Linked DNA regions of Homo sapiens: region 2 is linked to region 1. The links are contacts of gene promoters, found by promoter capture Hi-C in blood cells and fetal thymus (Javierre and others, 2016). All regions are on one chromosome and are shown on one strand. Each heading gives the region's core, a stretch centred on a gene start or on the middle of the fragment in contact. The rest is flanking DNA. Distances are from core to core; before and after follow the strand shown. Region 1 holds the start of ITGA2B (integrin subunit alpha 2b). Region 2 overlaps GPATCH8 (G-patch domain containing 8).

The links. The method cuts DNA at HindIII sites, captures the fragments that hold promoters and counts their contacts. A CHiCAGO score of 5 or more calls a contact.
Region 2: a fragment that was not itself captured here is called in contact with the fragment with the promoter of ITGA2B in region 1 in 1 of 17 cell types (megakaryocytes); the score reaches 8.7 in megakaryocytes.

The regions. Positions count from the first base shown.
Region 1 is chr17:44,387,377-44,391,824 of GRCh38, reverse strand. It overlaps ITGA2B (integrin subunit alpha 2b), which reads left to right and starts at 2,176. Exons shown (of 30, transcript NM_000419.5): 1 at 2,176-2,539. The coding sequence starts at 2,352. RefSeq lists an enhancer at 1,960-2,019. The HindIII fragment of the contact is 14,706 bases long and covers 1,729-4,448 here.
Region 2 is chr17:44,494,999-44,499,515 of GRCh38, reverse strand. All of the region lies in intron 1 of GPATCH8 (G-patch domain containing 8), which reads left to right. Among named protein-coding and RNA genes, the nearest start is that of GPATCH8, 6.1 kb to the left of the region's middle. The HindIII fragment of the contact is 9,814 bases long and covers 1-4,517 here.

The DNA of each region.
Region 1 (4,448 bases), core at 927-3,426:
CACCATGCCCGGCTAAAATCTTTATGATTTTCCATCCCCCATGGATTAAAGTTCAGATTCCTTAATATGGCATTCAAGGACCTCCAGTAATTTGAATCCCCAAGCTTTACCCCCTTGCGCCTCAGTCCAACCCTTTAAGCATTCTGCTATGCTGAGTCAACTACTTGTCCTTCCCTACCTCTGTGTTCCTTTGCTGCTCTCATGTATTCTCTATGCCTAAAAACCCTTTCATTCTCTGACAAAAGGCAACTTGAACATGAGTTCAAGTGCAACCCATGTTTGAATCTTAGTTTTGCCATCTGTTGGCTGCGTAAACATGGGCAATTTACCTAAAACTCTTGTGCCACAGTTTTGTGTTTATAAAATGGGCATAATAGTACTTATTTCCTAGGGTTGTTATGAGTAACAATGATATACGACTTTGATAATCTGTGTATTTTTCAAGGCATGCTTGACTGTCTCTCTGCTGCAGTTATGTGTGTTCATGTCTTAACTCTTTCTGGGCTGTTTGTTAAGTCTCCTTGATGGCTATCTTTGGAGTTTTTAAAATATTTTATTTTTTATAATTTTAAAATAGAGACGAGGTCTCACTGTATTGCCTAGGCTGGTCTTAAATGCCTGAGCTCAAGCCATCCTCCTGCCTCAGCCTCCCAAAGTGCTGGGATTACAGGCATGAGCCACTATACCTGGCCTAATGGTTATCTTTGTATCCTTTATCAACACAGTGCCTTGAACAGAGTAAATACTTATTGAAAACTTGAGTGAAATGTAAGTTCATATTTGGCCTCACAGAATACACCAGTAATACAGCAATCACTCACCTGAGGACAGTGGGAGGATAGAAGGTAAGTAGAGGACTGGGTTAAGTATTCGTTCAAGCAAATACATTAATTACACGCCTCCCATGTACTTGACACTGGGAACTCAGCAATGAAGAAGGCCCAGACCAAAGTTCAGGCTTTTAGCTTCCTGTCCTATAAAGGATAAGATTCTTAACTCTAGGCTGAGGTAGTAAATTACGAGGGGACTTCAAAATGGTACAGGGTGGTTGAGCAGGATACGGCAATGGTTAAGTTTGATCAGAAAATAGAAATCAAAAGGAAAATGTGGCTATGGTTACCCCTAGCGGACCTCTTAAATCTTCCTGAGAACCTGCTTTTTTGGGAAGGCATGAGTGCCAGTAAGACTTGGCACTCCTCCTCTTCCGCTTACCGAGAGAAAATGACTTTGCCTTTCTGCTCAAAACTCATCCCTTCACTTTGTCACCCTATGTTTGCATCTTCCATCCTTAGTGTGTGTTTCCATCCAGTCTTTCAGCAATACACGTACTACACATTGGACTCTTGGGTAGTCTCTAGGGCTGTAGCAAGGAGCCTTGCTCCCAAGGGACTCATTTACACAATCCTGTGAACGGACCAAGAGTAAACAGTGTGCTCAATGCTGTGCCTACGTGTGTTAGCCCACGCGGCCAGCCTGAGGAGTCAGGGAAGGCTCCCCTAGGCAAAGCCCCCAACCAGAATCAAGTCTTAATGGTTAAAGAGCTCCATCACCCAAAAAGGATTGAGGGCCTACCTTCAACTGAACAGCTAATGCATAATCTCAGAAACTGTGAGTCAAAATTCCCTGGAATAACTCCACTTTATCCCCAATCTCCTTGCCACCTAGACCAAGGTCCATTCACCACCCTGTCCCCAGCACTGACTGCACTGCTGTGGCCACACTAAAGCTTGGCTCAAGACGGAGGAGGAGTGAGGAAGCTGCTGCACCAATATGGCTGGTTGAGGCCGCCCAAGGTCCTAGAAGGAGGAAGTGGGTAAATGCCATATCCAAAAAGATACAGAAGCCTCAGGTTTTATCGGGGGCAGCAGCTTCCTTCTCCTTCCCCGACCTGTGGCCAAGTCACAAAGCACCACAGCTGTACAGCCAGATGGGGGAAGGGAGGAGATTAGAACTGTAGGCTAGAGTAGACAAGTATGGACCAGTTCACAATCACGCTATCCCAAGCAGAAAGTGATGGTGGCTTGGACTAGCACGGTGGTAGTAGAGATGGGGTAAAGATTCAAGAGACATCATTGATAGGCAGAACCAATAGGACATGGTAATAAACTATTCTCAGGAAAGGGGAGGAGTCATGGCTTTCAGCCATGAGCATCCACCCTCTGGGTGGCCTCACCCACTTCCTGGCAATTCTAGCCACCATGAGTCCAGGGGCTATAGCCCTTTGCTCTGCCCGTTGCTCAGCAAGTTACTTGGGGTTCCAGTTTGATAAGAAAAGACTTCCTGTGGAGGAATCTGAAGGGAAGGAGGAGGAGCTGGCCCATTCCTGCCTGGGAGGTTGTGGAAGAAGGAAGATGGCCAGAGCTTTGTGTCCACTGCAAGCCCTCTGGCTTCTGGAGTGGGTGCTGCTGCTCTTGGGACCTTGTGCTGCCCCTCCAGCCTGGGCCTTGAACCTGGACCCAGTGCAGCTCACCTTCTATGCAGGCCCCAATGGCAGCCAGTTTGGATTTTCACTGGACTTCCACAAGGACAGCCATGGGAGGTGAGCCGTAAGGGAAGTTGGGGTATTGGGAGAGAGCAGGACCCCTCCCCATCACTGCTTCTGGGGGCTTCGAGTTTCCCATTTGCGATAGCAGTTGAGCAAGGTGACTTGTGGGGCCTATTCAGGTTGATTTCTTGTCAAGAATGTTGGGGTCCAGGGGACTGGCTCAGGTGAAGGTATAAGGGCAGGGCACATGTGGGCTGATGGGCACTGAAAACTACAGCAAGAACAAAGGGAAGACAAGAGTTGATGCTTTATTTTTTCCCCAAGGGTCAGTTGTATGAACCACTCCACCCTCAACACCTTGAAATGCAGAGAGGAGGCCGGGCGCGGTGGCTCATGCCTGTAATCCCAGCACTTTGGGAGGCCGAGGCGGGCAGATCACCTGAGGTCGAGAATTCGAGACCAGCCTGACCAACATGGAGAAACCCCGTCTCTACTAAAAATACAAAAAAAAAAAAAAAAAAGAGACCAGGCACAGTGGCTCACACCTGCAATCCCAGCACTTTGGGAGGCAGAGGTGGGCAGATCATGAGGTCAGGAGTTCAAGACCAGCCTGGCCAATATGGTGAAACCCTGTCTCTATTAAAAATACAAAAATTAGCTGAGCGTGGTGGCACACTCCTGTAGTCCCAGCTACTCGGGAGGCTGAGGTAGGAGAATCACTTGAACCCGGGAGGTGGAGGTTGCAGTGAGCTGAGATCATGCCACTGCACTCCAGCCTGGGTGACAGAGTGACACTCCGTCTCAAAAAAAAAAAAATTAGCCGGGCGTGGTGCCGCATGCTTGTAATCCCAGCTACTCGGGAGGCTGAGGCAGGAGAATCGTTTGAACCTGAGAGGCAGAGGTTGTGGTGAGCCGAGATCATGCCATTGCACTCCAGCCTGGGCAACGAGAGCGAAACTCTGTCTCAAAAAAAAAAAAAAAAAAAAAAGAAAGGAAATGTGGAGAGGAGCACATGTCCTAAATTGATTTGCAGAACTAAAGTTGTCTACCCTCCCGCACCTTGCATTTCTGTTCCATTTCCCTCATCTCCATCAACATTATAAATATTTGAAAAGAAGCAATAGGTCATTAATGATTAGTATTGATCAGGCTTCAGAATCAAGAGTGCCAAGATTAGAGTCTTGGCTCCTCCTCTTCATAGCGTGTACCCTGAGCTACTATTGTGAGAGACACTGTGCCCACCAGCTTCAGGGAGTGGCAATGGGTGGCAATGGCAGATAGCCTTCAAGTGTCAGCCACTTAGGGGATTTCCTCTGCTGAAGAGAGCCAGTTCACTCCAAGTCCCCTCCCAAGATGGCCCACATCCAGTGTCTGATCAATGAGAAGTGGGTGAGTGGGGAGAGTGGAGGCAGGTGTGGGGGAGGCATTTGATAAGGGTCCAGCCCTCTTTCATCAACTCTGACAATTCTTTTTTTCTTCTTCTTCTTTTTTTTTTTTTTTTTTTTTTTTTTTTGAGATGGGGTTTCGCTCTTGTTGCCCAGGCTGGAGTGCAATGGCACAATCACTGGCTCACCGCAACTTCTGCCTCCCGGGTTCAAGCGATTCTCCTGCCACAGCCTCCCGCGTAGCTGGGATTACAGGCATGTGCCACCACACCCGGCTAATTTTGTATTTTTAGTAGAGACGAGGTTTCTCCATGTTGGTCAGGGTGGTCTCGAACTCCCAACTTCAGGTGATCCACCCGCCTTGGCCTCCCAAAGTGCTGGGATTACAGGCTTCAGCCACCATGCCCAGACTTTTTTTCTTCTTTTTTTTTGAGATGGAGTTTCGCTCTCGTTGCCCAGGCTGGAGTGCAATGGGGTGATCTCGGCTCACTGCAACCTCTGCCTCCTGGGTTCAAACGATTCTCCTGTCTCAGCCTCCCGAGTAGCTGGGATTACAGGTGCATGCCACCATGCCCGGC
Region 2 (4,517 bases), core at 582-3,081, 110 kb before region 1:
CGTGTTCCGAGTGTTCTCTGCATTTTATTTATTTATTTATTTTTTTGAGATGGAGTTTCGCTCTTGTTGCCCACCTGGAGTGCAATGGCACCATCTTGGCTCACCTCAACCTCCGCCTCCCGGGTTCAAGTGATTCTCCTGCCTCAGCCTCCCGAGTAGCTGGGATTTCAGGCATGTCCCACCATGTCCAGCTAATTTTTTTGTATTTTTTAGTAGAGACGGGGTTTCACCCTGTTGGTCAGGCTGGTCTCAAACTCCCGACCTCAGGTGATCCACCCACCTCGGTCTCCCAAAGTGCTGGGATTACAGGCTTGAGCCACCGCGCCTGGCCCTCTGCATTTTATTTCTAATGAAAAGGAACTACAGTAATAGATCAGTGAGTGATAAGTTGATAAGAGAAACAAGACATGCTATGTTAAAGGTCGTAATAAAAATACAGAAATTGCCCAAGAACTTTCTGTAATCTATGTAAGTAATCATAATGGTAAATAGCAATAAGCTAGTCATGTATTACATTTATGCAGTATGTTTGTAGGAATCCTCTTTGTGTTTCCATATGTAACCAGTATGTGACCCTTAGGAAATTCTTAGTTGAGACTATTAAGTGAAGAGGTTCATAGTTTTAAGATATTTAAGTCACAGAAGCATATTAGTGTATTTTCTGTATGTAATATAGTTGGCATTGTAATTCAGGTATGCCAGATATGACACATGGACAAGTGTTTTAAATCGTTTTTCCTATGTCTCGCTCCCGTAATCTGGAAGAAATGCCACAAGCTGTGAAAATTAATGTCAGTTTGGCTTGGGATACTGAAATTTATACAAAATCATTACTCTTCCCTGTCTCATAGTATGATAAGTGAAAAGGATTAGAATCAGGGCTGTACCAGTTTCAAAATACTGATGCTGAATTGACATGATTGTTAGCAAATGCAAAATGATATTGACATTGGTTAATACATTCTTAGGAGATCGAGAGTGACCAAAGTAAAGTCAGCATAAGAGAAGTTTCCCTGGAGGTGATTTGAAGGGTAAATGGTATATAATCACTTTTCAAATGTGGGACATATCAAGGACATCTCAACATCACAGAGAGAGACTTAAGTTGTAATTAGGAAAGATTGGGGTTGGGAAGAACTGTGATCAGAGGACTTCATGTGATGATGTATATTATTTGTTTTCAAAGTAGGCATGGGAGGCAGGAAGAAACAGATCTGGACAAATAGAGTATTATGCCGAGTATTATTTCAGGGCTCTTACAATACAGTCAAAATGATAGAAAAACAGGTACTCCTGTTGTACCTTTCCCTTTCTTCTATACATGTAACACAGTTCTCATTAGAGTACTGCAAAGGGATTCTTTCATCACAGTTTCTCATGTCTTTATGATAAATTGTATAACCAAAGCTAAAATTTGTGACTTAAAAATATTTCAAGATACATATGTAATAAGCTATCCTGATTGTGCTGCTTCATAATTGAGATACATTTCCATGTGATTTCTGTCTATCTGGGTACATGATAAAAATTTTTAAAAGGACAGTCTGTTTTTCTTTTCTTTTTTTCTTTTTTTTTTGGAGACAGTGTCTGGCTCTTTTGTCCAGGCTAGAGTACAGTTGTGGGATCTTGGCTCATGCAGTCTCCACCTCCTGGGCTCAAGCAATCCTCCCGCTTCAGCCTCCCAAGTAGCTGGGACTACAGGAATGTACCACCATGACTGGCTAAGTTTTGTACTTTTTTTAGAGACGGGGTTTCAACTTGTTGCCCAGGCTGGTCTTGAACTCCTGGGCTCAAGCGATCCTCCCACCTCAGCCCCCCAAAGTGCTGGGATTACAGGCATGCACCACTGCACCCAGCTGACAGTCTGTTTTTTTGATGTGGTCAAGACTTTTTTAAATTTAATTTTTTTAAATAAAAAATTCGTTTTTGAGACAAGGTCTCACTCTGTCACTCAGGCTGGAGTGCAGTGACGCGATCATGGCTCCTGGCAGCCTTGACCTCCCAGCTTCAAGTGATCCTCCCACCTCAGCCTCCTGAGTACCTGGGGCTACAGGTGTGTCACCAAGCCCTGCTAATTTTTTTCATTTTTGTAGAGATGGGGTTTCTCCATGTTGCCCAGGCTGGTCTCAAACTCCTGAGCTCAAGCTATCCTCCCACCTCGGCCCCTCAAAGTGTTGAGATTACAGGCATGTGCCACTGTACCTGGCCAAGATTGCCATTTTCTGAAAGCGTAGCAGAAGTTCATGAGATCTTAATTATGAATCAGAAACCTATGTAAAGTTTTCATTTTTGCTCTTGTGACTTAGTTTCTAGTATTTTATTAATGAAAATGGTTTCTAGCTTGAAGTAGATAGATTCCAGTTCGTGAGTTCTATTAAAATTCCTTCCCTGAAACAACTTGGTACTTTTGCTTGTAAGTCTGGCATTAATTTTCTTTTCATATTAGCATTACCATTTAGCATTAAGTGAAAGCAGATTCATGGTAATTACCAAAGGAATTACAGATGACCACCACAAATACTGAAAGAAGTCATTGATTTGATATTGCAGTGAATACCAGAAGATGTTGTAATAATTTTCCACTTATAAAAAGTGAATTGTCCATTTAACTCTGGAGGTCTAAGCAAATGTGCTTAATGCATATCGTATTAGTCAATGCAAAAAGTTAAATATGCCCAGGCTGAAAGAAGGTGTATAATGTATGGTCGTTCTTATACCAAATGATTTCTTTGGAATTTAAACAAATATGTTTAGTATTTTATTCCTAATTTAGGAAGAAAAAGCAACTAAAGTTGTTCTGACATTGTACACAGATGAGTAGCACGTAACTGTTATTTAGTAAGCCCCATAGATAGTAAGGAATAAAAGTTGTTAGTGAGCAAAACAGGAGTATCCTGCCATTTGCTTTAATTCTTCTTGTGATAGTTTTGAGGTACAATAATTCCTGTGTGCGTGTCACTCAAGCAACCAGAAAGTGTCTTTGTAATACGCATTTGGTCTCATCTCATGAAGTTCCAGTTGTTTGTTGTCATCCTTGTGACTCTTTGGTAATTACATTGATTTCAAAGAGGAATTCTAATTCATCTTACTGTTTCATAGAATTGAGACACAAAATAGCTTTACAGGTTTAAAGTTGTAATAGAAAAAAGTCATAGAGTTTTCTGACATTTTAATAATGACATTGTTGGAAAAGTCAGTACCTGTCTTATAGCCCCCATAACATTATTCTTCCAGAGTTAATAAGAAAAGAGGAGCTTACTTTTTCATCATTTTTGTAGGCAGTGCTGATCAAAATCAAGAAATTATTTTGATACTGTAGGTCTTGACTATAGAAGAAGTAAAGGTAGGCTGGGCGCGGTGGCTCACGCCTATAATCCCGGCATTTTGGGAGGCTGAGGGCAGGTGGATCACACGGGGTCAGGAGTTCGAGACCAGCCTGGCCAACATGGTGAAAACCCATCTCTACTAAAAATACAAAAAATTAGTTGGGTGTGGTGGTGCGCTCCTGTAGTCCCAGCTACTCAGGAGGCTGGGGCAGGAGAATCTCTTGAACCTGGGAGGTGGAGGTTGCAGTGAGCCGATACTGTGCCATTGCACTCCAGCCTGGGTAACAGAGTGAGACTCCATCTCAAAACCAAACAAAACAAAAAAAGAAATTAAAGCTAATGCTTGTGGATTGTATGCTGTAGTGTCAGTAATTTCCCTTGTTGCTATGAATAGAGCTATGAGTGAAATTATGAGGTATCTTTAAAGAAAGGGCAAAAGTGGTTGAAAATTTAATTGGTTTAATATTGTACTAGGGTATCATCTGTGCGAGCAATAACAAGGGGTATATTTACCTTTAGAATAGTTTCTAGAATATAGACTAATTTTTGAAAACTTAATTAAATAAAACAGTGTTTGAATAGTGGTTGTACGAAGAAGTACGTATTGTAGTGTAAGTATTTCTGTGCGGGTAGTTTGTTAAGAAGTGTTTTTGTTTTCAAGGAGTTTTCATTTTAGTTGGAGAGATAACATAAGTAGTAAGGTTTAGTTTATTATTCATAAGACCAGCATGATTATCAGAAAAACCAGCATGATTATCAGAAAAACAGTATAGCTAATAAATGCATAACTCTAAGTAAAGGAGAGAATCCTTAAAGTGGGATGATTGGACATGCTTTTATTTTATTTTATTTTTTTCAGACAGAGTCTTGCTCTGTTGCCCAGGCTAGAATGCAGTGGCATGATCTCAGCTCACTGCAACCTCCACCTCCTGGGTTCAAGCAATTCTCGTGGCTCAGCCTCACGAGTAACTGGGATTACAGGTGCCCACTACCACGCCTGGCTAATTTTTGTATTTTTAGTAGAGATGGGGTTTCATCATGTAGGTCAGGCTGGTCTTGAACTCCCACCTCCAGTGATCTGCCCGCCTTGGCCTCCCAATGTGCTGGGATTACAGGTGTGAGCCACCGTGTTGGCCTGGGCATGCTTTTATGAAGAAGTTAGCATTTAAGCTGGATCTTGAAGGATGGGAT